5 separate regions of the Homo sapiens genome follow, and regions 2, 3, 4 and 5 are each linked to region 1. The links are contacts of gene promoters, found by promoter capture Hi-C in blood cells and fetal thymus (Javierre and others, 2016). All regions are on one chromosome and are shown on one strand. The core of a region is centred on a gene start or on the middle of the fragment in contact, and the rest is flanking DNA. Distances in the headings are between cores, read along the strand shown.

Region 1 (4,824 bases), core at 2,325-4,824:
ACACATCAGTGCATGCAATGATGATGTAATGCATTTCCTGGAACAGCTGGGGCTATTCTGGGCAGGGTATTTGGGGTCTTGAGTACCTAGAGTGTAGTGCAGAATGAGTATGCTCTCTAGATTGACATGTCATCTTGACTCTAAAGCACTCAATCCTAAAGCTCAGGGCCTTGGATAAGGGCCTTTCCTGGCCTGGTGTAAGGGCAGTACTGATCTACGGTTTTTAGTTTGAGCATCTGTACAGAGGATTGCTGTCAACTGAGAAAGGGGGCTGCAGGTAGAGTAGGTTAGAGTGAGGAAAATAGTTTGGGAGCTCATTCACATGTTTGATTTCTTAGACTACACAAGCCGTACTGTAGAGAAGTGTAAATGGAGAATTTTCAACTTATAGTAGCACTCACTGGCCTGGAATTGATAAAAACTGAAGGCTGTTTTTCACTATAGTTAATTCTAACCTATAAACTGGAGCAGTTCCATGTAGGAATTTGTTAAAACCTATTGTGTATGAATTACAGACTCCTCTGACCATCCGAGTGTTCTTTTTCAGTTTTTTTTTTTTTTTCCTATGACCTAAAATCCCCTCAGACTTAAACCTTTAGTGAACTACTCAGTAAATGGCTTTACTAGTAAGTGTTCCCTTGCCTGGTATGTTTATTATTTTTTAACTTCAGTGTTTTATTCTTCGGCAGTAAGCAGTTGGATATAAGTTGGGGGTATAAATTTGGGACTCTGGCATATAGATGTTATTAAAAGTGATGAGACTGGATATCAACAAGGGAATGAGTGTAGATAAAGAAGAGAGCCAAAGACAAAGACTTGGGGCATTCCAACATTAAAAGTTTGGAGAGAAGAGAAAGCACCTCATAGAGGAGACACTGGAGATGTAAAGGAAAACTGAGTGATGTCCTTGAAGCCAAGTGATAAACTTTATCCAAGAGAAGAAAATGAACTGTCCAGTGCTGCTGATAGATAACTTTATATTGCCAGCTGTAAAATGTACTTTCAATTAGCCATTTCAAATTTGTTTACCAAAGCAATGATTTTGTTGGCTAGTTTTCTAAACTTCAGTAACTTTTCAGTGACTTGTAGGTTTTCATTGCATATACAGCTGAATTTTTTTTTTTTTTTAAACAGGGTCTTGCTGCCACCCAGGCTTGTATAGTGGTGCGATCCTAGCTCCTGCAACCTTGAACTTCTGGGCTCAAACAGTCCTCCACCTCAGCCTCCCAAGTAGCTGGGGCTACATGGCGCATGCCACCACACCTGGCTAATTTTTTTTTTACATTTGTAGAGGGAGGCCTTGCCATGTAGCCCAGGTTGGTTTCAAACTCCTGGGCTCAAGGGATCCTCTCACCTCAGCCTCCTAGAGTGTTGGTATTACAGGTGTGAACCACCATGCCTGGCCCAAAAGTTGTTTTTTTTTTTTTTAAGTTATTTTCTGTAATGCATTTTCTGTGAATTTATTGTCTTAAAAATTGGCAAATATGGCCATTTTGACATATTTGCCAAATATGAGCATATGGCAACTATGCTCTTAATTTGTTAAGTCACCAACTGTTGGTGGTAACTGTTGAAATAACAAGAGCAAAGTTATCACCAATCTACGGGATCCTTACACTACTGATATTTTCAATAATGCACCGTAGTCAGACATTGTAGACTTAACCTCTGAGCTGCTCACAAAATTACTAAATCATTCTGAAATACGTAACTGCAAATTCTGGGCTTTAAAGTCTCTAGTTAAATGGGTGATTTTGAAAATTGGTGGCTGTTCAGACATTTTCAAATGAGAATAGAATGCATTTGTTTCAGACTGATAAACTGCAGAAGGTTAGATAACACCAAACACATTTGAGTTTCTCCTAAGAAAATGACTTGGGCCTCCAGATTACATCTCATTTTTTTTTTTTTTACCCTATCAAGTTTGTTTTTCCATATGAAATGTCTTTCCCAACTACACCTGCCCTTGGAGACTGTGAATAACAGACTTAAAGGAAGTATCCTTTCCAGATGAGCTGAAGAATGTCATCCTCTTAAAAGAATGAACAGCTGGTCATGTAGAAATTCTCTGGAATGCTCACTTGTCCTACAAAGGCAGGGGAGCAGAAAACATGTAGTTTTTTTGTTATTGGTATACATAATTGTAAATCTTCGAGATAATTTTACTAGAAGTCCACATAATTTTAATAATTGCCTTTCTCCTGAAAAGATTGCTAATAAATTAACAATGTGAAGGCTAGAAAGCTGGCCAAGCATAATCCGGTGGGACTCAGGATTGCTGGCTGGATTGTCCCGTTTGATCAGACATTGTTTCTTAGATGAATATTCAGGACGCCCTCGTGTATAAAAGTTGTCCTTTGTTCTGACTACCTTGGTATTAAGTTCGAATTTCTTACCATGACACACAAAGGATTCGATTCTTGCTTAGCTCTCTAAGCTCCTCTCACTTTCTCTTCCCCTCTTGAATTCTTTGCTCTTGCCACACAACTAGCAGATGAACTAATCTATCTGTTCCAACGTGGGCACAGTAGCAGCCGTAACTCTTACCTTGGCCCACTCTGACTTGTCCAGCCCTGGTTGAATTCTTCGTATCCCCGTGAGGGTCCGCACGTAGTTGGGGCTGTTTACTAAACGGATGAACTTCCCTACCGGGAGGCTAGGTCTCGGTTATGCCTTACTTCCCAGGAAGCGGCTTCTATAGGCATTGTTTAAATGTAGGAGTAGGAGGGAGCTGGGGGTATTGCATTCCCCAGGTCACAGATAAATGAGATTCCAAAACCAAGATCTGGCTAGGCCTTGGAAAGAGGGACCTGCGAGGCCGACCAGACGTTTGGAACTGCGCCTTGCAGTGTGGGATCTCAGCACCGGATATTACCCCGGTTTGTAGAGAGTTGAGTTACTGTTTTAAGAGACGTTGCAAACCGTACGGGTCAAGAAGAAAGCCGAAGACGGGTTAGCGCCTGCGGTCGGGGTCGAGAAAAGCAGGCGAGATGCGACCTGACGTGGGTCCGCCTCTCTCCACCCGTGGCAAGCCCGACAGTCGCACTATTGCTTTAACAATCGCCCTCTTTCCAAGAAGAGCTACTTAGTGACCGTGAGCGAATATGCGTGGGAAGACACGATGTCCTCTCGGCCTCTGTGCGCTCAGTTGTTTACCTAGGCGTCCGGGGGAGGCACACTCGCGGGACTCGCGGGACTCGGCCCCGGCCTCCCAGCTCGCCCAGGACACGACGCTGGTTCTGCGGGCTCTCGGAGCCCAGCGCGAATCCCCCGGGCTAATTCCCAAGAACCGAGAGGCAGCACTGCCTGGAGGCTGCCCCCGCCTCCGCGCCCCCGTCCTCACTTTCTGAGGCTGTTAGCAGAGAGTCCCGCGGGCCGGGGAGAAGCGGGACGCGGGGGATGGCCTCGCAGCGCCCTGTGAGCGTCGGCAGTAGTCAGGCAGCCAGGGCTCCTTGGGCGATCGCCCTGGGTAGAGGAGAGGAGTTTCCGGGGCTCGGGTCCGGGTCGCCTTCCAGGGGAACGAGCGCGGAAGCAAGTGGGCGGCGAGAGGCGGAGCAAGAGACGCTGGAGGGCGTGGACGCAGCGGGCTTTGGAAAGGCCCCAAGTTAATGAGGCGTGCGCCGGCTGCCGAGCGCCTCTTGGAGCTGGGCTTTCCCCCGCGGTGCGGGCGCCAGGAGCCGCCTTTTCCGCTGGGTGTCACTCGGGGGTGGGGAAGATGGCCCATTCAAAAGCGCCGCGAGGGGGCCCGGCCAGTGCCCTTCAGTGAGCGCTCGCAAGAGGACGGCAGAGGCCCGGCAGCTCGGAGCTCCGGGACCTTGTGGCGCATCAGGACGCGGCTGTCCCTCTGCCGGGACCCAGAGCCGCCGCCGCCGCTCTGCCTCCTGCGTGTTAGCCTCCTCTGCGCGCTCCGGGCAGGCGGCCGTGGGAGCCGCTGGGGCGAGGACGGCGCGAGGCTGCTGCTGCTGCCCCCGGCCCGCGCGGCTGGAAACGGAGAGGCCGAGCCAAGCGGCGGCCCCTCTTATGCTGGGAGGATGCTGGAGAGTAGCGGCTGCAAAGCGCTGAAGGAGGGCGTGCTGGAGAAGCGCAGCGACGGGTTGTTGCAGCTCTGGAAGAAAAAGTGTTGCATCCTCACCGAGGAAGGGCTGCTGCTTATCCCGCCCAAGCAGCTGCAACACCAGCAGCAGCAGCAGCAACAGCAGCAGCAGCAGCAGCAACAACAGCCCGGGCAGGGGCCGGCCGAGCCGTCCCAACCCAGTGGCCCCGCTGTCGCCAGCCTCGAGCCGCCGGTCAAGCTCAAGGAACTGCACTTCTCCAACATGAAGACCGTGGACTGTGTGGAGCGCAAGGGCAAGTACATGTACTTCACTGTGGTGATGGCAGAGGGCAAGGAGATCGACTTTCGGTGCCCGCAAGACCAGGGCTGGAACGCCGAGATCACGCTGCAGATGGTGCAGTACAAGAATCGTCAGGCCATCCTGGCGGTCAAATCCACGCGGCAGAAGCAGCAGCACCTGGTCCAGCAGCAGCCCCCCTCGCAGCCGCAGCCGCAGCCGCAGCTCCAGCCCCAACCCCAGCCTCAGCCTCAGCCGCAACCCCAGCCCCAATCACAACCCCAGCCTCAGCCCCAACCCAAGCCTCAGCCCCAGCAGCTCCACCCGTATCCGCATCCACATCCACATCCACACTCTCATCCTCACTCGCACCCACACCCTCACCCGCACCCGCATCCGCACCAAATACCGCACCCACACCCACAGCCGCACTCGCAGCCGCACGGGCACCGGCTTCTCCGCAGCACCTCCAACTCTGCCTGAAAGGGGCAGC
Region 2 (4,824 bases), core at 677-3,176, 330 kb before region 1:
TACAGGCTCATAGGCAGAAGGGACTTGCCTTGTCTCAGATGAGATTTTGGACTGTGGACTTTTGGGTTAATGCTGAAATGAATTAAGACTTTGGGGGACTGTTGGGAAGGCATGATTGGTTTTGAGATGTGAGGACATGAGATTTGGAGGGGCCAGGGTAGAATGATACGATTTGGCTCTGTGTCCTCACCCAAATCTCATCTTGAATTGTACTCCCATAATTCCCACGTGTTGTGGGAGGGACTTGGTGGGATCTCACCTTGAATTGTACTCCCATAATTACCACGTGTTGTGGGAGGGACTTAGTGGGAGATCATTTGAATCATAGGGGCAGTTTCCCCCATATTGTTCTCGTGGTAGTGAATAAGTCTCACGAGATCTGATGGTTTTATCAGAGGTTTCCACTTTTGCATCTTCCTCATTCTCTCTTGCTGCCACAATGTAAGAAGTGCCTTTTGCCATCTGCCATGATTTTGCGACCTCTGCAGACATGTGGAACCATAAGTCAAATTAAACCTCCTTTTCATCCCAGTCTCGGGAATGTCTTTATCAGGAGCATAAAAACTGACTAATACATCTTGTCTTTCTGATTCTAGTTTCTTCTCTTGCATTTAGGTTTTTAAGTTTAATACTGAACACCAAAATTACAAATCTATTAATAGGATAGAGTCCAAAGTTATTATTCTAAGGAAAATTTAGTCATAGTTGATGGTTTCATATACTTTTGAATCTTGTGCATCCACTTCAATCCTTTCAGTAAGTTTAAATAATGCTCTACAAAATAATGGTATCATTTTTATTTATTATAAGATACTTTCTGTACTACCCAGATGTGATTAAAAGTAAATAAACCGTTTTACTGGAAACCCAGCATTGTTCAGTGGGAATGTTTCTAACATTGGGAACAAAATAAATATGATTTATACACACTATTATTTAACATTCTATTATTTAACATTCTACTAGAGAATAATAATAGCTGGTGCAGTCAGAGGTAGGGGGATCTATATTCATATTTGTTTATGTATACATAATAATATCCCTGGATATAAACTAATAGTGATGGGTACCTATTTAGTGGGAGAGAGACTGGGTATACTCTTCATTGTGTATTTTACTTTTTGACATTTGTGCCAAAGTACTTCCTATTAAAATAAGATCATTTGATTGCATAAGTGCATCACATTTGTTAAATTTGAATTAGACTATTTCATCATTGTCTTTATTTCTGAATATCATGCCTATGTGCAGATAATTTTGACAATTGTACACAGTTGGTCTTTAGTCCAAAATACAGTGCAAATTCACAAAATAGTTATTTTTTTCTTTAGGTTAGCGTCCCCAAAATGAAACATAAGCCAACCAGGCAACAGAAGAAAGTAGCAAAAGGCTATTCCTCCCCAGAACCTGACATTCAAGACTCCTCTGGAAGTGAAGGTAAAAATATTTATTGCAGACTAATGAGAGTCTAACTTTTTAATTACTACACAATTTGATATGAATATGGTTTTTCATATTAACTCAAGTTATGTGAGTTTTGGTCGGGGCAGGGTTGAGATACAAAAGCAATTCTAGATCATAGATAAGTTGTGAGACCAGGACGCAAGGTAAAGAAACAGAAAATGAAAAAGGGGAGACATCTAAATAAAAACCACACTCTAGGCAGGGTGTGGTGGCTCATGCCTGTAATCCCAGTACTTTGGGACGCCGAGGTGGGCAGATCACTTGAGGCCAAAAGTTCAAGACCAGCCTGGCTAACATGGGGAAACCCCGTCTCTACTAAAAATATGAAAAAATTAGCCAGGTGCGGTGGTGCACACCTGTAATCCCAGCTACTTGGGAGGCTGAGACACGAGAATTGCTTGAACCCCGGAGATGGAAGATGCACTGAACCGAGATCACACTACTGCACTCCAGCCTGGGTGACAAAGTGAGACCCTGTCTCAAAAAAAAAAAAAAAAAAAAAAGAACCACACTCTAGTAGTAGCTACCTCTTATGCCTTGTTAACCTCTGAAAAATTGCTGATGGTTCCCTAGATTGAATTCAGAAGCATTTTTTGAGCTTTGAACTCAGTTCCATGCTTCAAAAATGTTTTTCATTTCCAGAATAAATTACTGTAGTGTTTGGAAGTGACAGACAATAAAAATATAAAACTTAGCAACTGCTAGCTTAAATTGTACTCCATTCTTATTCGAGTCAGATAATGTGTAAAGTATCTTGAACTACATTGAGATATAATCATGAAAGGATTAAAGTGATGTTTGTGACATGACAAAAAAAAAAAAACTTTAAGCCATAATCTCTACTGAGTTTACACTGAACTAGGGAGCTCATTTTAACCTATAAAGATAACACTAGAAGTGAATAAATGGTAGATTACTAAGAAATTAGATGACAAGTGATAAAGAGTTTAAAGGAGAGGGAGCTCAATTCAGTTTGAGGGAAAGTTCTTAGAATCCTGATGAATTATTAAGATTTCTAATGGATTATAGCAATCTAGGCTTGGAGAGTGGGGTAGGGGTAACATACTAGAGTAGTTAGAGGAATGAACCGAATAAAGGTTTAAAAGCAGGAGTCATGTGGCATACCAGTGTGTTAGAAGAGAGTATTGGTTGTATTGTTGTTATTCCCATTTTACGAGAAAAGAAACTGAGACACAAGTTAACCTGCCTAAGGTCACATACCCCATAAGTAGGTATATGTATGTTATATATGCAGATTTTTTGGCTCCTTAATTCACCCTGTCATCCACTTTACTATATTACTATAATGTATCAGCAGACATTTATTGAGTAATTAATTTGTGCCAGACTGTATGTTAAATACACCTTACAACAACCCTGTGAAGTCTGGTATTATTATCCCTATTTTTAAAATGAGAAAGCTGACACTTGCAGAGAGGTTAAGTAGGATCTGAACAAAAATGGAAAGGAAGGAATGCATATGTAGGGAATTTGGAAAAACATGTACAGCTTGCTGATTGGCAGTAAAAATTTGCAGAAGTGGTGTCGAAAGGGATTTAAAGTTTAGGTAACTAAACACTCACAATAAAAAATTGGAAAAAAGGGCTCAAGAAGCTGACTTCAGAGGTAGGCAAATGGGCAAGGAACAGAAGAGAGTAATACCTTCCTCAAGTTAATATGTATTTCTAATGAATTATTTCTGTTTTAATTAGTTAAAAAAACTGGTGCCATCCAAAATTCAACTAATGTGTAGTACTTTAAATATATTTGTAGTGTTCTAGTATTGCAATGATGTGTTTGAAACTTCAAAAGTGCAGAGTATTCATATTACTATGCTAATCTCTAGGCTACAAAAACAAATGCCCAGGAAAATTTTTATTACATGAGACACATTAAATTGAACTGTAGATTATTTTTATAGTTTCAACTTCATTCTAAATGTCTTTTTAGCTCAATCAGTAAAACCAAGTACAAGAAGAAAGAAAGGAATAGAACTGGGAGACATTCAGAGTTCCATCGAATCTATAAAACAAACACAGGAAGAAATTAAAAGGTAATAATATAATGACACTGACTATTCATTTGAGACCAAGGAGTAGTTAAGAATCCTGTTATATGGGAAATCATATGCAGACTTCATATTTTTATAACATTTAGCTAAGCTAAAATACAATGTTTAGCCTCTATCACCTGATGTTTGACACTTACGAAATTCCTCCAGCACTAAAATACTTGGGAAGGAAGGAGAGGTTGTTTTTTCTCTGTAAGGGTAGAATTGGAATCACTTTATTTTACTCCTATAGCATGCTAGGAATGTAGCTGGGTTGCATGTGGAGGTGGGATTGTTTCTGAGAAAGTCAGTTAACAAAGGCCTCTATAGTCCCCTCTGTGCATGGCTGTTATTTCATTGGAATGCATCAGTTGAAATATTGAAATACATCCATAACATTGGGTAAATATTTACTCCCTGAGCCCTTAAGTATTCCTCTTTGCAGTCCCAGACCCCGCCCCCCCCCACCCCTACATACCACCCCATGACCCAGCAACTAAAAATTATTAACATTAAATGCTCTGTGACTGTTTAATATCAAATTGTGGGCTCTATGCCAACATTTCTGGCAAATCATTACAAAATTTGTTGTTGCTTATTTTTATAGAAATATTATGGCTCTTCGAAATCATTTAGTTTCAAGCACACCGGCCACGGATTATTTTCTGCAACAAAAAGACTACTTCATCATTTTCCTCCTGATTTTGCTTCAAGTCATAATAAACTTCATGTTCAAGTAGAAGTTCTCTACCATTGAATCAGTGAACTAGAAAGATCTGATTTGGCCTGGGACCAGTGTTCAAGTTGGTTTGGTCTTTATTAAAAATCACAATATTCCGAAAACAAAAAAACCTAGGAGATAAATGTAGAGGTATTGACTTTTCGTATCTTTTATCTTCACACTGAAACAAGAGCTATCCTATTTGATTATTAAAGTGAGCTATGTGTTAAGTGCCAGGACATTTCTAGCTTTTGTGAGAATGTGTCTACATATGAGTATAATAAACCCACATGTATACACAATTGTCTCTTATGTACTCCTACCTGACAGTAGTCTTTGTATTCTATAGTATGTTCTGAGATATAATGTTAACATTGTTCATAACAAAAAATGCTATCAATCTTATAAATATATGTAATCTATTTTCTTCATAAAACAGGCACAAAAGTTTTATCAGTAAGGAATTACAGATTGAGAAATGATGGAATAATAGACATAATTAATTCAATACACTACTGTTAAAATCATTTGCAAAGCACTCAGCTCAATTATCTTCTTAGAAAGAAAGAAAAAGTATGAATGGTCAAAA
Region 3 (4,824 bases), core at 739-3,238, 300 kb before region 1:
GCTACCCCACAATTCAGGTTAATGCCTGGCTCAATAGAGGGTCTTCCAGGGATTCTGCCTCAGTTCTTTGGTGTCCACTCTGATAAAGTATTAGACATTCCATACTGGTTTAAGGATTTGGAGTATCATTCCTTAATATGGTGTGCGTGTGTGTGCACACACATGTGTATGTGTATAATACATACATTTATGTGATCATGCTACACATACTACTTTTCAGTGCTTTGTTTTCTTTTGCCTTTCTGCTTATCTCCCCACTCTTTTCTGCTCCTCCCTTCACGTTGGGCCCCAGCCACCACCCCCTAACCCAAGTAATCTTGTGAAATACCTACCTGGTGTTGTTCTATACATTTCACTATGCTGCTTATAAAATCATATACAAGCATGTGCGTACATATTCATATATGTTTATTTGGATTGATTTTGTCCTACTTGGTTGAGATTCCTCTTTGCTTCTTGTCACACTCGCTGCCCCCCAGGGAAGGCAAAGGGACTTACTTGTTGGGTTGGGTGGAGGAACAGCACATGCTTGGCTCAACATTCACTTTCTTTCTCTTAGTTAAAGAAGGGAAGCATGGTCAGCTTTACTGTCATAGGCCTGGAACAGGAGTCAGTGCTGTTGAGGACCATGACTGCATTTGGTCTGACTTAGAGATGGAGCATGGACCAGCCTGTTCGATTTAGCACTCTAAGGCCTGCTATTCAGCATAAGCATTATCCAGAGTTACTGTAGTTTTTCCAACTCCCTCAGCTTGACTCCCCTGTCTGCCTCCCAATGGGAGTAGAGTTATTTATTGGTTCCTCTAAAATCCCATAATCAACAGATATCACCAGCCTTAATTTTGAGACAGGGTCTGACTCTGTCACCTAGCCTGTATTGCAGTGGAGCGCAAACACGGCTGAACTGCAGGCTGAACTTCTGGGCTCAAGTGATCCTCCACCTCAGTGCACACCACCATGCCTAGCTAATGTTTTAATTCTTTGTAGAGATGAGGGTCTCACCATGTTTTCTATCCTGGCCTCAAACTCCTGGCCTCAAGTGTGAGCTGCACCCAGCCAACAATCCAGTTTTAAAAGCAGTCACTGGCATGGGCTTAATTTAGCCAAAGAGACCCAAATGCTGTTATTTGGCATAATATTAATTTTTTTCCAGCTCCAGGATGAGTTGAGACTCTAAAAAAGCCAAATTATTGAAAGAACCAGTGTTCCATGTTCTGTGCCACTGAATAAAAACTCCTTGATTAAACCTACTGCACACATAGAAAGATGAAATCAGAGACAATCTCTTCAGGTTGCAATCCCAAAGCTTGTCAAGGACCAGCAATATTCCTACTTTTGTGTGCCATGAAATTCCTCTACTTAAGTTATCTCAAAGAGTCTAATACTTGTAAGAAAGGAAACCAGTGAAAATGCTTTAATAAAGAAAGTAAAAAGATGGAAAGATTAGATGGAAGGAATATTTTATGAATTTGATTAGGTAAACAGAGGGGAAGAAAGTGGAAATGAGTTATTCCAGGGTGATGGGATGAAGATATTAGGTCTAATTAGGGTAGATTAGAAAACCACTAAGCACCAAACATATAAATAGCTTACAATGGCTCATTAGGTATGACTGGAAGCTACATCAAAACACTCATTAGTTAAAAGCTGCCAGGTTCCATTATGATTGAATATGTCCAAAAAAGGGCATGTATGATCAGAGTAGTGGTAGAGAATACAAGTTTTAAGTTTGGTGTGTCTTGTGTTTTGTTTAAGAAATCTTTGACTACTCCAAAGTTTGGGCCTTTGAAATGGTAACTAAGAAATCTAAGAAAAATACTGAATTTTGGCAATTTCTGCATAAATGCAAAATATAAGTATTTAAATATATTTTAAAATAATATATAATATTAATGCATATAAATATTAAATATATGTAAAACTGAGAAATCTAGTATAATCAATTCACACTATGAAAACTATCTTACAATGCCATAATGATGAACTGAAGAAAAAAGTCACTTTCAAGTTATCTCTTTTCTAACTCATAACAAACTTGATTTGATCTATTCTTCCAACAAAACATCTTCATGGAAATGCTTTAAATAGTAAAGCACAATTAAAATGCTTCATTAGAATTGCCGGTTTACTCACCATTCTCTCAGAAATTCCTCCAGTCAGCAGCTTCTTTGGAAATACAGAAAGCAACCTCCTGGCACTGTAACATGAACCAATCTGCAAAGATTTTATAATAGCACAGTGAAATGACTTTTACATTTGCCGTACTAAGCATCTTTAGTATGCCATACTTAGTACTTCCATACTAAGTAAAACATAAGTATGGCATGGTACAGAGAACATGGGCTTTAGAGACACACTGACTTGGTGTTTGCATCCTAGATTTGCCATTTACTAGTTGTGGGACCTTAAACAAGTTTCTCAAATTTGCCATACTTCCCTCATTGGTTCTTTCAGTTCTATATTGTGTAACAAATTATCCCCAAATTTAGTGGCTTGAAATAGCAAACGTTTATTCTCTCACATAGTTTCTATGGGTCAGGAATCTGAAAATAACTTCACCGGGTGGTTCTGGCTCAGGGATTTTCATAAGGTTGCAGTCAAAATACTGAAGACCTGAGAGGCTGAAGGATCCACTTCACTCATTCACATAGCTGCTGGCAGGAAGCTTCAGTCCCTCGCTCTGTGGGCGTCTCCATAGGACTGCTTGATGTGTTCAAATGACAGCCGGCTTTCCCCACAGTGACTGACCCAAGAGAGAACAATGCCTGTTTTGTTTTGCTTTTTAGACAGAGTTTACTGTCGCCTAGGCTGAAGTGCAGTGGGGCAATCTCGGCTCACTGCAACCTCCGCCTCCCAGGTTCAAGCGATTCTCCTGCCTCAGCCTCCCGAGTAACTGGGATTACAGGCACCCGCGACCACGCGCAGCTAATTTTTGTATTTGTAGTAGAGACGAGGTTTCACCACGTTGGCCAGGGTGGTCTTAAACTCCTGGCCTCAGTCGATCCGCCCGCCTCAGCCTCCCAAAGTGCTGGGATTACAGGCGTGAGCCACCGTGCCTGGCTGAGAACAGTGCATTTTTTTATTTTTTTATTTTTTGAGATGGAGTATAGTTCTATTGCCCAGGCTGGAGTGCAGTGGCACAATATCGGCTCACTGCAACCTCCACCTCCTGGGTTCAAACAATTCTCCCGCCTCGGCCTCCTGGAACAGCTGTGATTACAGGCACGTGCCACCAGTCCCAGCTAATTTTTGTATTTTTATTAGAGACAGGATTTTACCATGTTGGCCAGGGTGGCCTCGAACTCCTGACCTCAGGTGATGCGCCCGCCTTGGCCTCCCAAAGTGCTAGGATTGCAGGCGTGAGCCACCGAGCCCGGATAAGAACAGTGACTTTTAACATCACTCCTGCTGCATTCAATTCATGAGAAGTGAGTCACAGAGTCAGCTCACACTCTAGGTGAGGGGAATTAGTCTCCACTCTTTATTAGAGGGAGGAGTGTCAAAGAATTTATGGATGTGGTTTAAAATCATTAAGTCAGTAAAACAGAAACAATAAGATCGACCTTATCTTACACTTTAAAGGGTCAAAGGTAAACATCAAGAACCATGCTGGCTTGGAAACATATATGCATTTACTGAGTCTTCATTGAGTACCCTCCTGGGCTGCACACTCAGGATTAAACAATGAGCAAAACTCATAGAATTCCTGCCCTCATGAAGCTCACAGTTTAAAAATGGGGAAGATTGACATGAATCAAATGTTACATAAACAAATGTAAAATTGCTGCCTCAATATATGCATGGTGCACAGTAGAGGGATTTGATCTAATCAGGAAAGTTTCTCTGAGGAAATTATGTTGACACTGAGATCTCAGGGTTGAGTAAGAGTTGATGAGGTGCAGAAGGAAGAGAAGAGAGTTCTAGGTGAAGTATTCAACAGACATGAGACTTGTGGGCGGAGGTGTGGAGAGGACAAGGCACTGAGGAGGCCAGCATGGCTGGGGCAGGGGAGGCTGCACTTGGATGCAGGAGAGGTGTATTAGTCCATTTTCACGCTGCTGATAAAGATATACCAAGACTAGGAAGAAAAAGAGGTTTAATTGGACTTACAGTTCCATATGCCTGGGGAGGCCTCAGAAGCATGGCGGGAGGAAAAAGGAGCTTCTAACATGGTGGCAGCAAGAGAAAAATGAAGAAGAAGCAAAGGCAGAAATCCCCTGATAAACCCATCAAATCTCATGAGGCTTATTCACTACCAGGAGAATAACACAGGAAAAACTGGCCCCCATGATTCAATTACCTCTCCCTGGGTCCCTCCCACAACAAGTGGGAATTCTGGGAGATACAATTCAAGTTGAGATTTGGGTGAGGACACAGTCAAACCCTATCAAGAGGGAACAAGGAGTCAGACCTCACCCTACTCATCTGTCTCTAATAAAGGAAGAGAAGAAAACATTTTATATGCTTATGTGAAATCAGTGGTTGCCAGGGAATAGAGTCTGGGGTAAGGATTAACTATGAAGGGGAATGAATGGACTTTTGGGGATGATGGGCTGTTGTGTATCTTGACTGTGGTGATGGCTACAAAACTGTATGTGCTCATCAGAACTTATAGAACTGTGGACTGAACAGGATGAATTTTACTATAAGTAAATTATGCCTCAATAAACTGGACCTTTTTTTTTTTAAAAAAAAAAGACACTTTTATGCAGGCACTTTAACAGAGGGGTACCATAACATAGTGAATTTTTCTATGATATGGGTTTTGGATTTCATCCAAACAGGTGTAATTCCTGTCACATCAAAAGAAGACTGTCATCACGA
Region 4 (4,824 bases), core at 1,666-4,165, 290 kb after region 1:
TTCTTGTCTTCATAGCTCATAACTTGTGTTTATTTTTTTAATTGACTTTTAATAGTTGTACATATTTTTGGGACATATGTCATATTTTGATACCTATTTACAATGTGTAGTTATCAAACCAGAGTAATTGGGATGTCCAGCTCTGTTTTTAAAAAAATTACATATGTGTTCTCCCTAGAACAAGGGCCAAAAAACTTTTTCTCTAAAGGGCAAGATAGTAAACATTTTAGAATTTACTGATCATACAGTCTCGGTCATAACTACTCAACTCTGCCACTGTATGCAAAAGCAACCACTGACAATAAATGAGGGGATTTCAAAAAGTGCATGAAAAATTGAATGAAAAAATAAAAATTAAAAATATAAGTTTTCTTCTCAGCATGAGCTTCAAGTTCAAGACATTTTTGTAAGTGATGGTACCAGCCATTAAGTTCATCTCTAAAAAACTGGGAGTCCTGGGAATTCACCATGTCAAAGTAATGTTTTTTATATTATTAACTGAAGGAAAATGGGTGCCTTTAAAGATTTTTTTATGATTAGGAGGCAAAAAGAATTCAGAAGGAACTGAATCATGACTGTAAGATGGAAGCCTAATGATTTCTTACTGAAACTCTTGCAAATGGCCCTTGTTTGATGAGAGGAATAAACAGGTGCATAGTCGTGGTAGAAAAGGATTCTAGTGAAGCTCTCCTGAGTGTTTTTTTGCCAAAGGTTTGGCTAACTTTCTCAAAATACTCTCATAATAAGAAGATATTATGGGCGGGTGCGGTGGCTCACACCTGTAATATCAGCACTTTGGGAGGCCGAGGGGGGCGAATCACCTGAGGTCAGGAGTTTGAGACCAGCCTGACCAACATGGAGAAAACCCGTCTCTACTAAAAATACAAAATTAGCTGGGCATGGTGGCACGTGCCTGTAATCCCAGCTACTTGGGAGGCTGAGACAGGAAAATTGCTTGAACCTGGGAGGTGGAAGTTCTGGTGAGCTGAGATTGCCCCATTGCACTCCAGCCTGGGCAACAAGAGTGAAACTCCATCTCAAAAAAAATAAAAATAAGAAAATATTATTGTTCTTTCACACTTCAGAAAGTCAACAAGAAAAATGCCTTGAGCATCCCCCCAAAATTGTTGCCATGACCTTTGTTCTTGGCCGATTCACTTTTGCTTTGACTGGCCCCCCTCCACCTCTTGGTGGCCATTGCTTTGAGTGTGCTTTGTCTTCAAGATTGTACTGGTAGAGCCTTGTTTCATCTCCTGTTACAATTCTTAGAGGAAATGCTTCAGGATCTTGATACTGCATGCTTAAAATTTCCATTGAAACCCCTGCTTTTGTCTACAGCTGATCTGGGTGCAATCATTTTGGCAGCCATTGAGTGGAAAGTTTGTTCAACTTTAATTTTTCAGTCAGAATTGTGTAAACAGAACCAATGGAGATGTCTGTGATATTGGCTGTTGTTTCTACTGTTAATCATCAGTTCTCTTCAATTAAGGCAGGAAAAAAGATAAATTTTTTCCTCACAAATTGATGTAGATGATCTGCTGCTGCTGGCTTCATCTTCAACATCATCTCATCCCTTCTTAGGATGAGTGATCCATTTGTAAACTGCTGATTTCTTTGGGGCATTGTCCTGTAAACTTTTCATAAAGCATCAGTGATTTCATCATTCTTCCACCCAAGCTTCACCATAAATCTGATGTTTGTTTTTGCTTCAATTTTAGCAGAATTCATATTGTTCTTATAGAGGCTCTTTTCAAACCAACATCGTATCCTTGTTTATGCCTCAAACTAGATCCTTTTCAGATATGTTGTAACCAGTTGGCATGAGTTTATTTTGGTGCAAAAAAATTTGAACTCCATGCATAGTTTTTTTCATAATACGCATTTTCCATAAACTTTTAAAAGACTCCTCTCATATAAATGAATGGGCATAGTTGTGTTCCAATCAAACTAAGCACTGAAATTTGAATTTCAATAAATTTCATGTGTCATAAAATAGTATTTTTCTTTTGATTTATTTCCAAGCATTTTTTTTTACTTCACAGACTGCTCAAAAATAGATAGTGGGCCAGATTAGGACTGCGTGCTATAATTTGTTGGTCTTTGCACTAGAATGTCAACTAGAGAGTGATGGGATTGGATTTGTGCTTTTAGCCAGTGCATCTCAAATTTAAATGTGCATATGGATCATCTGGGTTCTGTTAAAAATGCAGATTCTGTTGTGAGAGTCTGCATTTTTAACCAGCTGCAGGACCATACTGGTGCTGTGGTTTGCGGACCACACCTTGAATAGCAAGGTTTTCAAAGATTGCACATTGGCATCCATCCGTGCAAGACAGCTTGGATTGTAGAGGGACCGGATGGGGATGGGGATGAGTGGTAAAGAGGAGTTAGAAGGCTTTGTAATTGTTCAGGATTGCACTAATTAGGGCCTATCCTAGGTCAGGGTCAGTGAGGTTGGAGAGGGACAGATGAGTATGAAAGACTTCTGGGAGGTGGACTCAGCAGGTCTTGGTTGCTGAGTGGATGTGAGAGACAGAGGGAGGAGAAATTGAGGTTGACTACAAGATTCTGTTGGCCAATGGTGCACTTAGCAAGACCCCGATGATCCATACGGAAGTGGGTACAGAGTAGGTGCTTAATCAATGTTGTTTAAATGAAAAGGCAAGGGGAAGAGCAAGTTGGGTTGGAAGGGGATGGGAGAGAGAAGAGAATTACCTCAATTTGGGGTAGTTTGAGTTTGATTCTTCAGAAACCAAGAGAAAGTAGTAAAGGCAGGTAATGTTTTGAAGGCAGAATGCTGCCCGAAGCTGCTGGTCTGGGAATGGGTTGTTTTCCATCAACTGAGAATTTGACCCAGAACAACAGCACTACGCGTTGGGTGTCCCTTATCTGAAATGCTTGGGAGCAGAAGTGTTTAGGATTTCATGATTTGTTTTGGTGGGCGGGGAGGGGGGATAGATTTTGGAATATTTGAATATATACAATGAGATATCTTCGAGATGGGACCCAAATCTAAACACAAAATTCATTTCTGTTTCACATTCACCTTATACACATAGCCTGAAGGTAATTTTATTTAATGTTTTTAGTAATTTTGTGCTCGTGAATCAGTTTTGACTGCATTTTGTCTTCATTCCATCACATGAGGTCAGGTGTGGGATTTCCCACTTGCAGGGTGATATCAGTGCTCAAAAAGTTTCAAGTTTTGGAATCATTTAGATTTTGGATTTCTGGACTAGAGATTCTCAACCTATACCAACCAGGAAGAGCATAAGCTATACCAAAAGTATACTGAGGGCATTTGCCACCTTGCAAGGGTTCTTATATAAATGTTTAACTTTATTCTTATTTTACAATAGAAATTTTGTTACAAAAAACCATCGGGCTGCGCGTGGTGGCTCACGCCTATAATCCCAGCACTTTGGGAAGCTGAGCCGGGCAGATCACCTGAGGTCAGGAGTTCAAGACCAGTCTGACAAACATGGAGAAACCCCATCTCTACTAAAAATACAAAAGTAGTCGGGCATGGTGACATATGCCTGTAATCCCAGCTATTCGGGAGGCTGAGACAGGAGAATTGCTTGAACCCAGGAGGCAGAGGTTGCATTGAGCCAAGATTGCACCATTGCACTCCAGCCTGGGCGATAAGAGCAAGACTCCATCTCAAAAAACAAAAAACAAAAAACAAAAAACCAAAAAAAAAACCATCAAGGAATCAGAATTTGCTTGCAAATGTTTTAAAGCTCTGGCCTGAGAATCAACTTAATTTAAATATTATACCATAAGGCCTGTTGTCTCAGGTTTTCTCCACTCCTATGTTTAATTTAGTTGTTCTGCTGAAGACACTAAATATCTGTCATATATCAAAGGAATTTGTCATTTATGTAATATTATATAATGCATTCTTAGATGAAGCAGGTTTTGTTTCCTGTTTTTTGTTTTTGTTTTTAGCCCACTTTTACCTTTGCAAATTCTGATGAAAGAAAAATTTACCTGAATTTGCTGGTGATCTTTTCTGTCACTGGCCATAGAAAAACCCCAAACATACCAGCAGTGTTTAATTAACAACCTCCTGATTCTTCCTTTGTCTCTAGTCCTTCCCTCTTTTAATCCATTTTACACATTATTGCCCAATTAATATTTCTGAAGCTTATCCCTGATCCTATTACTACCTTGTTCAATAAACTTAAATGACTCTCTGTGGTCTACATAAGTCTGCACTCCTCAGCCTGCTTTTCAGTGTGCACCACCATCTGATTTCCATATACATTTCCAAAAGATTTCCTATTACTCACTTTTACCCACCCCACCTGACAACAAAATCAAACTCACTGCTTCCTCTCAGGTCCTGCTCTTCCCGGCCTCTGGGCCATGATGCAAGCTGCTCCATCCACCCACTCTCCCAGCCTACTCTGAGCCCTAAAGTTCTCTGAAGTTCAGGCCAAACTTCTGCTTCTCCATGAAGCATTCTCTGATTTCCAAGTTGAAAATAATATTTTTTTTTGTTTTTAATTTTCAAAGTTCTTTATCTGTGCAGCAAGGTATGGCAGGAAGGTTATGGATCTCTAGAATGTAAGCTCAAGGTAGGACCTGGTCCACTTATTCATTGCTGTGTCACCACTGCCTAGGCAAATGACTGGCACATAGTAGGTGCTGAATAAATATTTATTGATGAGTGAACAAATGGAATGAATGAATGACTAAATTAAGATGAGTTCAGTTTAAATTCAAGGCTACCATCACATGCAAATGCCTAAGACATGGATTGAAACAAGGTAGGGGCTTAATATGTTAAGTTCCTTCCTGTTTATTATCTCTTTTATG
Region 5 (4,824 bases), core at 992-3,491, 280 kb before region 1:
ATGAGTGTCCAAGCTGCACACTCCACGTACTATAAAGTCTGAGCAGAACGTCTAAGTAGAGCAGAGCCCATCATTCTAATCAAGACAACGTACATGAAAGTTAACTGGGCACGTATTTAATGATACACATGATTATGATTGTGCTGCATGGTAATTAAGCATAAATGGTGAGGGGCTCATGTAAATGACTGTAATTAGTATTACTTTTTCACAGCTAAGCCAAATTTCATTTCCCCTTTCTACATTGCTAATTTTCCAGCATCTGTAATCAGTGTCAATGTTGATAATTTCTGATGTCACATACTGTTTAATCATCACATCCCATGAACATACACAGATCCAGGCACAAAGATGCACATGGATGCACACACATACACATCCCCACGTGCACACATGCTCACCCCACCCCTGCCTTCACACACACACACACACACACACACACACACACACACACACACACACAGAGCCTGGAGGTAACACTGAAATGAGGGGACCTGGTCCCTGGTCTACGTACCCCATTCTTCAGGGCAGAGGTTTCCTGTGTTTCTTTTTTTCTCTCTTTCTTCCTTCCTTCCTTCCTCCCTCCCTCCTTCCCTCCCTCCCTCCCTCCCTCCCTCCCTCCCTTTCTTTCTTTCTTTCTTTCTTTCTTTCTTTCTTTCTTTCTTTCTTTCTTTCTTTCTTTCTTTTTTCTTTCTTTCTTTTTCTTTCTTTCTTTTCTTTTTCTTTCTTTCTTTCTGTTCTTTCCTTCTTCTTTCTTTCTTTCTTTTCTTTTCTTTCTTCTTTCTTTCATCTTTCTTTTTGACAGAGTCTCACTCTGTTGCCCAGGCTGGAGTGCAGTGGTGCCATCTCAGCTCACTGCAACCTCTGCCTCCCAGGTTCAAGCAATTCTCCTTCTTCAGCCTCCCAAGTAGCTGGGATTACAGGCACCTGCCACCACGCCCTGGCTAATTTTTGTATTTTTAGTAGAGACAGGGTTTCACCGTGTTAGCCAGGCTGGTCTTGAACTCCTGACCTCAAGTGATCTGCCCACCTCAGCCTCCCAAATTGCTGGGATCACAGGCATGAGACGTCATGCCCAGCGCTCCTGTGTTCCAATTTTCCTACTTTCTGGCCCTGGAGCAATTGAGGCCACTTTAGAGAAGTGACAGCTTGACCACCACGTGAGATCATCTGAGGTCTTAATTGTAAAATTCTATTTTAAAAATGCTAATATTGGGAGTGGTGATGGTGGTAAAATCATATTTTTATATTTTTAATATACATAATTTTATTTAATTAGTTACTTTCATGTTATCACCATCATTTTTATAATCACAAAAATTACTGTAATTTTGGATTTTAATATATGTCAGACACAATGGCATATTCTTTACATGCATTATTCCCCTAAATTTTGAGGTACATGTTATTCCCCATTTCCTAAATAAGAAGCTGGGGCTTACTGAGGTTAAGTATTTGCCCAAGGTCACGGAATCAGTAAGTGGGAAGCCAGGACTCAAATTCTGTGGATTTTGAGTTAAAGTCCATGACTGTAACTACTCTGCTCTTCTGGCAAAATGATGAGGACAGATATTTCCTTTCCTAAATCTTAATTTTTTCACCAGTAACGATGTTCATAGCTCACATCTGTCTTATTTTTTATAGAGAAGAAGGGGCTTGGATATTTGAAAAGGGTTTTTCTGCCAAAAAGAGGAGAGAGAGAAGGATGAAGAGGCACCCAGCACTGCCAATGCAGGCATGAAGCCAAACCCGTTTGTCTTCCCTGGTATACAGAGTGACCACAGGGGACATTTTAAAAGCTCTAGGGAGTTAGAGAGTGCTGAAGAAGAAATCTGGGCAGCAGGGCTGCGGCCAGCCTTTCAGCAGTTTGTGCTGGGAGCTGCTCCCCAATGAGACTTTCACCTCAGCTGGGTTTGCGCGCCGTACTCCCTAGGCTGAAAGTTCTCTGGATCGGTCTCCTCGAAGCAGTGCTCCCGACAGGCAGCACTGAGCCTTTCACCTGGAAGGAGGAAAAGAAGGGTTTCGTAGACACAAATGGGGAGGAAGGCGAGGGCTGCCCTGTTACTGCGATGCCCTCATCAGCCAAGTCTGGGCTGCTCCCTTTTTTTTTTTTTTTGAGACTGAGTCTCACTCTGTCGCCCAGGCTGGAGTGCAGTGGCGCGATCTCGGCTCACTGCAAGCTCCGCCTCCCGGGTTCACACCATTCTCCTGCCTCAGCCTCCGGAGTAGCTGGGACTACAGGGCCTGCCACCACGCCCGGAGAATTTTTTGTATTTTTAGTAGAGACGGGGTTTCACCGTGTTAGCCAGAATGGTCTCGATCTCCTGACCTTGTGATCCTCCCGCCTCGGCCTCCCAAAGTGCTGGGATTACAGGCGTGAGCCACCGCGCCCAGCCCGCTGCTCCCTCTTTTTAAAGAGTGGCTCCTCCCCCTGTTCTAGCTTTCAGGTCTGACCAGAAACAGTCTCTTCTTTGACTCTGCCTCCTTGACCACAGTGAGTGGTCCAGGGATAAGCAAGTCAGATTGACTGAAGTGGGGAGAAGGCTCTCAAAGGTCCTGAGACTGTAAGATGTAAGAGACTCTGAAGAAATGAAAATTTTCCACTGTAGGCCTCCATGTCCTTGTCCACTGTAGCTGTTCCTCCCCACCCCCGCCGCTCACACATGACCGGACTGTTCCTCCCACTCCTCTTGGTAAAATCCAAGTTGTCCAAACAGTGACCGCTAATTGCTAAAGAAAATTCCTTCCTTTTCTAGGAACCATCTTTGTTCTTAAAACAAAGTGAACTTGAGCTGACCCTGCCTGCTGAAGCCCTATAAAAAATTCCACCCTCCTTCCCAAGTTAGAACGCTCCTTTTCACGCCGGCATTACTGAAAGGCTTATGCTAATGGTGTTCTTGGTTTTTTCCACAGAGGATATAAGTTAAGAGATGTTGAGATGCTAGCAGCAGGTCTACAGCTTGTGGAGAAGCCAGTCTGGGAGAAGGAAATTAACGTGCAAACAGGTTAAGAAATAAGTGGTAGAGGGAGAGACAGAGAGATCCCCTCGCGTTTAATTTTCCATCTTGCTTCTCTAAGACCAGGATTCTTCCCTGTTCTTCTCATTTTTGGTTATGTAAGTAAATTAGTTAAAAATGTAAGATTAAAAAAAGGAGCACCACAACATCTTCACATGTGGCTGTGCAAACGTAATGTTATAACTGTATACTGAAAGAAATTCGAATTTAGAGCCTCGGTGTCCAGGAATAAGGGTAAACATTATCTTGTCCTTTCACATAGCTCTGTCAGCTCACTCTCTTCTGGGTAAATGATGAGTCAGAAACACAGGATTCTTCTCTCATTCAATGCCACCCTCACTTCTGGGAATGAATAAGTTGCTGGAGAATCAGGATGTTGAAGAGTAATTTTTAAAAAACCCATGCAATTACACAATGCCAAAAATCTTGTTTCACTTATTATTTATTTATTTTTACTTATTTATTTTTTTTGAGACGGAGTCTCGTTCTGTCGCCCAGGCTGGAGTGCAGTGGCACAATCTCGGCTCACAGCAAGTTCTCCCTCCCGGGTTCACGCCATTCTCTTGCCTCAGCCTCCCAAGTAGCTGGGACTACAGGTGCCCACCACCACGCCCAGCTAATTTTTTCTATTTTTAGTAGAGACGGGGTTTCACCATGTTAGCCAGGATGGTCTCGATCTCCTGACCTCGTGATCTGCCTGCCTCGGCCTCCCAAAGTGCTGGGATTACAGGCGTGAGCCACCGCGCCCAGTCTATTTCACTTATTATTTAATAAGGAAACCAGTAAGAAGTAAAAATTGGTTGAAAGGAGAATTCAAGGACAAAACACATATATAGGCAATCAGAAATATTGAATTAATTTTGCCTATAGATGCAAAACTAGCCTCTTCCATAGAGTGGAAATCAATACACCTTCATTGGACAAAAGTCATTCTTATTTCTAAGAACAGGAATCATGTACATCACCACCAACCTTCCACCACTTAACTTCAATTTCTACAGATTTGCAAAATAGTCAAGGACAATGAAAGACACAGACCCACGTAGAATTTGATAAACCTGAAAGGGTCCTGTTTCCAGAAATTTTGTCAAGAATTCAATCTGTGTAATTTGATCCCCTACACAGGATCCATAGACCGGCTTAAATAGATGTGAGATTTGAATAACTGAATTTGAGAAATTGCCGGAAAATACACTATACATTTCCATCAAACCAAGAATATTCCTCTATTTTCATACAGTCCCCAAACTCAATTCACGGTCATTGTGACAACACAGCAACCACCTACATTTCTATTTTGCTCCATAAATTTTAGTTATGACAGGTTAGCCAGGCACACTGGAAAATCTCGCCACCAGCCCTTTGCACCCCACAATGAGATGCATGTGCAGATGGAGAGCTGTTGCAAAAACTAGGGCTTCCGTAGGGAGAGGGGGAAGGTTTACAGATTCCAAAATCAGAAGAAACACAACATCTGAATATGAACTTGTAGCCCCAATTAGGAAAATCTGAAAATCATGAGGGAAAGACTTTTAAACCAGCACCTCTCTTATGGGGCCCCCACCTGCTGCTTGGACATGATATACTCACATTTTGATATTCCATCCTGACTGTATTAGAAAGTATGATCCACACTCTTTCTTAGGCAAAGGCTCAAGAAATAAAAATGCTCAGTCTGGTGTGATTGTTCCTCAGAGCTTATGGTGGATTTTCTTGCTTCTTACTAGGAGAAAAAAATGGTCAAATAAAGCAAATTGAACACCTCACAAGCAAGTGGAGAATCAGCCTTGGATAGTTTCCCCATTCA

The links. The method cuts DNA at HindIII sites, captures the fragments that hold promoters and counts their contacts. A CHiCAGO score of 5 or more calls a contact.
Region 2: a fragment that was not itself captured here is called in contact with the fragment with the promoter of PHLDA1 in region 1 in 2 of 17 cell types (M0 macrophages and M2 macrophages); the score reaches 5.7 in M0 macrophages.
Region 3: a contact is called between a fragment that was not itself captured here and the fragment with the promoter of PHLDA1 in region 1, in 3 of 17 cell types (M2 macrophages, M0 macrophages and endothelial precursors). The highest score is 10.8, in M2 macrophages.
Region 4: a contact is called between a fragment that was not itself captured here and the fragment with the promoter of PHLDA1 in region 1, in 4 of 17 cell types (M0 macrophages, M2 macrophages, M1 macrophages and 1 more). The highest score is 12.6, in M0 macrophages.
Region 5: a fragment that was not itself captured here is called in contact with the fragment with the promoter of PHLDA1 in region 1 in 1 of 17 cell types (endothelial precursors); the score reaches 6.1 in endothelial precursors.

What each region holds. Positions count from the first base shown.
Region 1 is chr12:76,030,526-76,035,349 of GRCh38, reverse strand. PHLDA1 (pleckstrin homology like domain family A member 1) reads left to right here and starts at 3,574. Exons shown (of 2, transcript NM_007350.3): 1 at 3,574-4,824. The coding sequence starts at 3,609. The coding sequence ends at 4,814. It overlaps PHLDA1-AS1 (PHLDA1 antisense RNA 1), which reads right to left. Exons shown (of 2, transcript NR_186034.1): 1 at 4,756-4,824; 2 at 3,972-4,439. It overlaps PHLDA1-DT (PHLDA1 divergent transcript), which reads right to left and starts at 3,537. Exons shown (of 2, transcript NR_185978.1): 1 at 2,548-3,537; 2 at 961-2,086. RefSeq lists an enhancer at 3,419-3,668 and a silencer at 3,889-4,038. The HindIII fragment of the contact is 8,299 bases long and covers 1-4,824 here.
Region 2 is chr12:76,355,319-76,360,142 of GRCh38, reverse strand. OSBPL8 (oxysterol binding protein like 8) reads left to right here. Exons shown (of 24, transcript NM_020841.5): 22 at 1,332-1,437; 23 at 3,415-3,517; 24 at 4,122-4,824. The coding sequence ends at 4,254. Among named protein-coding and RNA genes, the nearest start is that of BBS10, 9.3 kb to the right of the region's middle. The HindIII fragment of the contact is 7,968 bases long and covers 1-4,824 here.
Region 3 is chr12:76,332,829-76,337,652 of GRCh38, reverse strand. No RefSeq gene overlaps it. Among named protein-coding and RNA genes, the nearest start is that of BBS10, 13 kb to the left of the region's middle. The HindIII fragment of the contact is 1,359 bases long and covers 1,309-2,667 here.
Region 4 is chr12:75,739,674-75,744,497 of GRCh38, reverse strand. All of the region lies in intron 1 of LOC105369844 (a long non-coding RNA gene), which reads left to right. Among named protein-coding and RNA genes, the nearest start is that of KRR1, 230 kb to the right of the region's middle. The HindIII fragment of the contact is 2,472 bases long and covers 1,680-4,151 here.
Region 5 is chr12:76,310,456-76,315,279 of GRCh38, reverse strand. No RefSeq gene overlaps it. Among named protein-coding and RNA genes, the nearest start is that of BBS10, 36 kb to the left of the region's middle. The HindIII fragment of the contact is 7,990 bases long and covers 1-4,824 here.